Regions from separate parts of the Homo sapiens genome. Here region 2 is linked to region 1. The links are contacts of gene promoters, found by promoter capture Hi-C in human tissues and cell types (Jung and others, 2019). All regions are on one chromosome and are shown on one strand. Each heading gives the region's core, a stretch centred on a gene start or on the middle of the fragment in contact. The rest is flanking DNA. Distances are from core to core; before and after follow the strand shown.

What was found. Contacts are between HindIII fragments. The study calls those that stand out against the background at their distance.
Region 2: a fragment that was not itself captured here is called in contact with the fragment with the promoter of RASL11B in region 1 in 3 of the 25 tissues and cell types used here (IMR-90 fibroblasts, liver and mesenchymal stem cells).

Annotation. Positions count from the first base shown.
Region 1 is chr4:52,860,843-52,863,923 of GRCh38, reverse strand. It overlaps RASL11B (RAS like family 11 member B), which reads right to left and starts at 1,607. Exons shown (of 4, transcript NM_023940.3): 1 at 1,275-1,607; 2 at 600-656. The coding sequence starts at 1,416. It overlaps LOC124900700 (a long non-coding RNA gene), which reads left to right and starts at 1,719. Exons shown (of 2, transcript XR_007058115.1): 1 at 1,719-1,840; 2 at 2,193-2,775. RefSeq lists silencers at 1,288-1,582, 1,554-2,043. The HindIII fragment of the contact is 6,378 bases long and covers 1-3,081 here.
Region 2 is chr4:52,393,903-52,396,983 of GRCh38, reverse strand. No RefSeq gene overlaps it. Among named protein-coding and RNA genes, the nearest start is that of USP46, 260 kb to the left of the region's middle. The HindIII fragment of the contact is 4,012 bases long and covers 1-3,081 here.

The DNA.
Region 1 (3,081 bases), core at 358-2,857:
TTAAGCAATTTGCTAACAGAGCATAGGCAGAAAGCTCTTAAGCCTCCCCAGTGGCTATTCTTAATCATAAGGATTGAAAAATGTGTCCTCTCATTTATTCGGGAATTCTCCTCCTAAAATTCTACCATCCAGTTGTTTGTCTTTGTTAAGAAGGAGGAACTTTAGGTTTACAACTGCTCTCCTTTGGCCTTTGCTTTAAAAGGTCACCTCTGAAAGGCAGCCAGCAGAGAAGGAGAGGGGTGGGGGAAGGAGCTAGGGACTCCTTTTTTTTTTTTTTACGACTTTTGCAGGAGTGTTTTGAAGGGAGAGGTTCTTGACTACAAAGGGTGCTTCCAACTGGGGTCACTATAGTTAAAACATACCAAGGGGAATACTTTCAGGCACTTGATAAAATGATGAATGGGCTTGGAATGGAATGAGGCCAGATGGTAGTTATGGGAGGGGGGCGCCATGGAGGGCTGGGGACTGGGGAAAGTTTTAAGTGGCGGGATCCTCAGGCTCGGACTGTCACTGAAAGAACCTCCCTGGGAAGCGCTGGAAAATGGGAACCGCAGTCCTCCTGCAATGGGACAGAATTTTTCTCAAATGCATTGTCTCACCTGCATTTCTTTCATAGTCACCGATGAATCGTTTGGTGAGGAACCGGACCACCAGTGCTGCACGTCAGAAAAAAGAACGTCAAAGTGTTAACCTTGGAAGTTAGATTGTTCTCCACCCCACCCCCTGCCTGGAAAACAGTTCTCCCAAAGAAAGCCATAGATGGCCACCAAGTGAAATTCCTACCCTGTAGCTCCTTGACCCTTCTTTCCAGACAAAAAGGAGGGGGCTAGAAGGCATCGTGAATTATGGCTCTGTGCAGCTGGAAGGCTCACTGGGCCCACCCCCTCCTCTGAGCCCGGCTGAGCCACACCTAAGCCTTCCAGTAGACCCATGTCTTCCTAACCTTCAAGACCTCCCAGGGGGGCTAGCTTCACTAACTCCCCTTTCTGTGCCAGGCATTGCCAGAGGCTCAAACACCCCAAAGTTCTGATGGCGGCGGTGCCGGTGGTCCCCAGAAAGCTGCCTGGCCATTCTTGATCCTTGTTTCCCCCGTCTGTGGAAGCAGGCGGGTGGCGTAGACAACGGCTAAGCCCACTCCCAAGGGGCAGCGGCTCCCTGCGCGGGGACGGAGAGCGGTCGGGCTGCAGCTCCCACCGCTCCCCACGCCTTGTTCAGCCTCAACTCCCGTCAGGGGTCGTCCAAGACCAGACCCAGGGCTAAGCGCGACGACTCACCGGTCTTGCCCACGCCGCTGGCGCCCACCACGGCGATCTTGACCAGGCGGCGGCCGGCGGCGCCCACACAGCAGTCGGAGGCCGCGGCGTTGCCCGGCGCGGGGTACTCGGCGATGGTGCACATGTTCTGAATGAGGCGCATCGCCTCGGCTGCGGCGCACCGCGCGGGAAGGGACTGAGGGACTGGAGAATGCTAGCGCTGCGCGGGAGCGGGCGGGAGGACCCGACTGCGGGGCTCCGCGGTAAGAAATAACAACAATAAATAAGTGCAGGTACGGGCGGGGTGGGGCCGAGCGCCGAGGTTCCGCAGGGCTCAGGCTCCAGACCCAGACTGCACTCGCGCGGCGCGCCGGCTGTTTTCTCCGCGGCCGGCCCCGCCCCCTCTCCCCACAGCCAATCCCGGGGCGCCCTACACGAGGCCCCGCCCCCGGCGCCGCTCCGCGCGCGCGACGCCCCCGGAGGCGCCTGGAGTCAGTGCGGAGCCCCGTGAGGCGCGGGGAGAAGAGGCAGCGGGCGGAGGGGAGCAGCGGGTGGTCCGAGGCGGCGCAGCCCAGGGTGGGCGCCTGGTAGGTCCTGCCGCGCGAGCATGGGGCAGCTGCTGTGGCTGCGGGGCCAGGAAGAGAGCGCAGCCTCCACAGAGCCATTCCGGACCGCTGCCTCCGCCGGCTCCACAGCCCACGCGCGCACTCGCTGCAGCCCCAACCTAGGGCGTCTGCTCTGGGCGGGCCGGGAGCGGTGTTTGCTCCCCGGCTTAGTGCCGCCCGCCCTGATTTGGAGCGATTGCACTGGCTTGGGTACATCCCAGCTCATAGATTCAGCTACAGTTGGCAATCATCCGCAAAGACTCCAGCCTAAGACCTTTAGACCCCCGTAAAATGTGACATTTGAAGCAAAAATATCATCCACGTTTTATCCTAGACCCACGTTCTCTGGCTCTTGTCGACGGCGCAAGCTAACGCAAACACACATGGTCGGACGCATGCACAGCACGCCTAGAAGCGGATCAAGAAGTAATTATAGAACAAGCTTTCCAGCGCCTCACTCAGTCACACCTCCTTCAAGAGCTGTGAAATGGAAAGAAAACAGTTACTCCAGCTGCGACGTCTGAAGGGGCCCCGCACTTCGTCCCTGGTCATAAGACACCGCAAGAGTTTAGTTAAGTGGCTTGATACCAAGGAAGAGGTGGGCCCTGCACTCCTAAAATCCCAAGCTCCGGCCCCTTACAGTCTCATCTGAGAAACACATCTTCAACGGCAGGCCAAATTCCTCCTGCGAGCAACATTCTGTAGCTGCAGCTGATGGCAAGATGTCACCAGCGGCTGATGGCAAAATGTCACCAGAGTCGCGGGTTAACCACCCCATCCGCTATCCAAGGCCCTCTCCCCGCTACCCTTTCAACCTTGTCCCAGAGGCTTTTATGTTGGGGTATGGCAACAAACTCTGTGGCTTTGTGTACCCACCCACATTAAAGGCTAAAATGTGAAATAAACCAGTGCCCTTATCCGCACATGTCAGTCATCTAATTTGACCCCCTCTTCCAGCCAGAACTTAATTGACCAGGTATTTGACAGAATTTTATGATCCTCAGCCAGTTCAGACTCTGAGATGAACCTCTTGTCTACAGAGGTTTAGGTGTTTGCAGGAATGCAAGGAGAAATAGAAAGGTAATCTCAAGGTAGCAAGTTTTCTAGGATGGGCCACGTAATTAGAAAGACACACAACCTTACAATAAACATAATAAAAGGCTGACTTCTAGGGAGATCACTAGAACGAAACAGCCATTTGAGTCAGAAAGAAAAAGCATTTC
Region 2 (3,081 bases), core at 342-2,841, 470 kb after region 1:
AAAAAAGAATATAGGAGAAAACCTCCAGGATCTAGAGCTACAAAGAGTTCTTAGATGGAAGACCAAAAGCATAATTCATAAAAGGAGAATTGATAAATTGGACTTTATCAATAAAAACTTTTGCTCTGTGGAAGACCCTATCAAGTAGAGGAGATGAGCTAAAAACGTTTGCAAACCACATATTCAAGAAAAGGCTAGTATTTCAAATATACAAGGAACTCTGATAATTCAACAGTAAAAAAAAAAAACAAAAAAAAACCCAAACAGTTTAATTAGAAAATAAGAAAAAGACATAAATATTTCATCCAAGTGGATATACAGACAGAAAATAAACACATGGAAAGATGCTGAACAACATTAGCTTTTAGAGAAATGCAAGTTAAAACCGCAATGAGCTATCACCACACACTTATCAGAATAACTAAAATTAAAAATAGTGAAAATATAACATGCTGGACAGGATGCAGAGAAAATGAAGCATTTATACATTGCTGGTAGGAATGTAAAGTGGTATGCCACTCTGGAAAACAATTTGAGTTTCCAAAAAGAATTAAACACAGAATTACTATTCAACGAAGTAATTGTAGTTTTGGGCGTTTTATCCAAGATAAATGAAGACTTACATTTATACAGACACATGTACACAAATATTTATAGCACCTTTATTTGAAATAGCCCAAACTGGAACACAGCTTACACATGAAATCGGTAAGTCCAAGAGATATCTGCACTCCCATGTTCCCTGCAGCGCTATTTACAGTAGTCACAAATGGAATTAACCTAATGTTCATGGATGGATGGATGAATATATTTTTTACAAAATGTTATTCAGTCTTAAAAAAGAAAACCCTGCCATTTGTGACTACGTGGATAAACCTAGAGGACCTGTCCTTCAGTGGCTGAATGGTTAAACAGACAGATGTTATCATTGGGAGAAACTGTAATGGGCACATTGGGTTCCTCTGTGTTATTATTTTTTTTTACAACTGCAAGTGAATCTAAAATTATCTCAAAATAATAAATCTATTCATTATTCTCCAGCTTTAATAAGGTATAATTGACAAAAAACTATATATTTATGGTGTCCAATGTGATGTTTTGATATATGTATACATTGTGAAATGGTTGGCGAATTAACATATCTATCACCTCACATATTTGTCATACTTCGTGGTGAGTACATTTAAGATTTACTCTTTCAGCAATTTTCAAGTACATTATTAACTTTAGTTACTATGCTGTGTATTAGATTTCCAGAACTACCTATTGATCTTAACTGAACTTTGTACCCTTTGACCACTATCTCTCCATCTTCTCCCCTCCTGCCATTCCACAGCCCCTGGCATCCACTATTCTACTCTCTGCTTCTATGAGTTTGACTTTTTTTTTTTTTGAGACGGAGTCTCACTCTGTCTCCCCCAAGCTGGAGTGCAGTAGCGCGATCTTGGCTCACTGCAAGCTCCGCCTCCCGGGTTCAAGCTATTCTCCTGCCTCAGCCTGCCGAGTAGCTGGGACTACAGGCACCTGCCACCATGCCTGGCTAATTTTTTGTATTTTTAGTAGAGACGTGGTTTCCCCGTGTTAGCTCCTGACCTCGTGATCCGCCCGACTCCGCCTCCCAAAGTGCTGGGATTGCAGGCGTGAGACACCGCTCCCGGCCATGAGTTTGACTTTTTAAAATTTAATTTGATTTGATTTTATTATTATTATACTTTAACTTTTAGGGTACATGTGCACAATATGCAGGTTAGTAACATATGTACACATGTGCCATGCTGGTGTGCTGCACCCATTAACTCGTCGTTTAGCATTAGGTATATCTCCTAATGCTATCCCTCTCCCCTCCCCCTACCCCACAACAGTCCCCAAAGTGTGATGTTCCCCTTCCTGTGTCCATGTGTTCTCATTGTTCAATTCCCACCTATGAGTGAGAATATGTGGTGTTTGGTTTTTTGTTCTTGTGATAGTTTACTGAGAATGATGATTTCCAATTTCATCCATGTCCCTACAAAGGACATGAACTCATCATTTTTTATGGCTGCATAGTATTCCATGGTGTATATGTGCCACATTTTATTAATCCAGTCTATCATTGTTGGACATTCAGGTTGGTTCCAAGTCTTTGCTATTGTGAATAGTGCCACAATAAACATACGTGTGCATGTATCTTTATAGCAGCATGATTTATAGTCCTTTGGGTATATACCCAGTAATGGGATGGCTGGGTCAAATGGTATTTCTAGTTCTAGATCCCTGAGGAATCACCACACTGACTTCCACAATGGTTGAACTAGTTTACGGTCCCACCAACAGTGTAAAAGTGTTCCTATTTCTCTACATCCTCTCCAGCACCTGTTGTCTCCTGACTTTTTAATGATTTCCATTCTAACTGGTGTGAGATGGTATCTCATTGTGGTTTTGATTTTCATTTCTCTGATAGCCAGTAATGGTGAGCATTTTTTCATGTGTTCTTTGGCTGCATAAATGTCTTCTTTTGAGAAGTGTCTGTTCATGTCCTTCACCCACTTTTTGATGGGGTTGTTTGTTTTTTTCTTGTAAACTTGTTTGAGTTCATTGTAGATTCTGGATATTAGCCCTTTGTCAGATGAGTAGGTTGTGAAAATTTTCTCCCATTTTGTAGGTTGCCTGATTCACTCTGATGGTAGTTTCTTTTGCTGTGCAGAAGCTCTTTAGTTTAATGAGATCCCATTTGTCAATTTTGGCTTTTGTTGCCATTGCTTTTGGTGTTTTAGACATGAAGTCCTTGCCCATGCCTATGTCCTGGAAGAGTTTGACTTTTTAAGATTCCACATATAAGTGAGATCATGCAATATTTGTCTTTCTGTGCCTGGGTTATTTCACTTAGATAGTGTCCTCCAGGTTTATCCACGTTGTTAAAAATGGCAAGGAAATCTGAATGCCAATGGAAGACTGAATAGTACTTTAAAAAATTATTCATCCATCCATCCATAAACATTAGGTTAATTCCATTTGTGACTGTTGTATATAGTGCTGCAATGAACATGGGAGTGTGAGTGTCTCTTAGACATACTGATTTCACTTCCTTTGGTTATATATCCA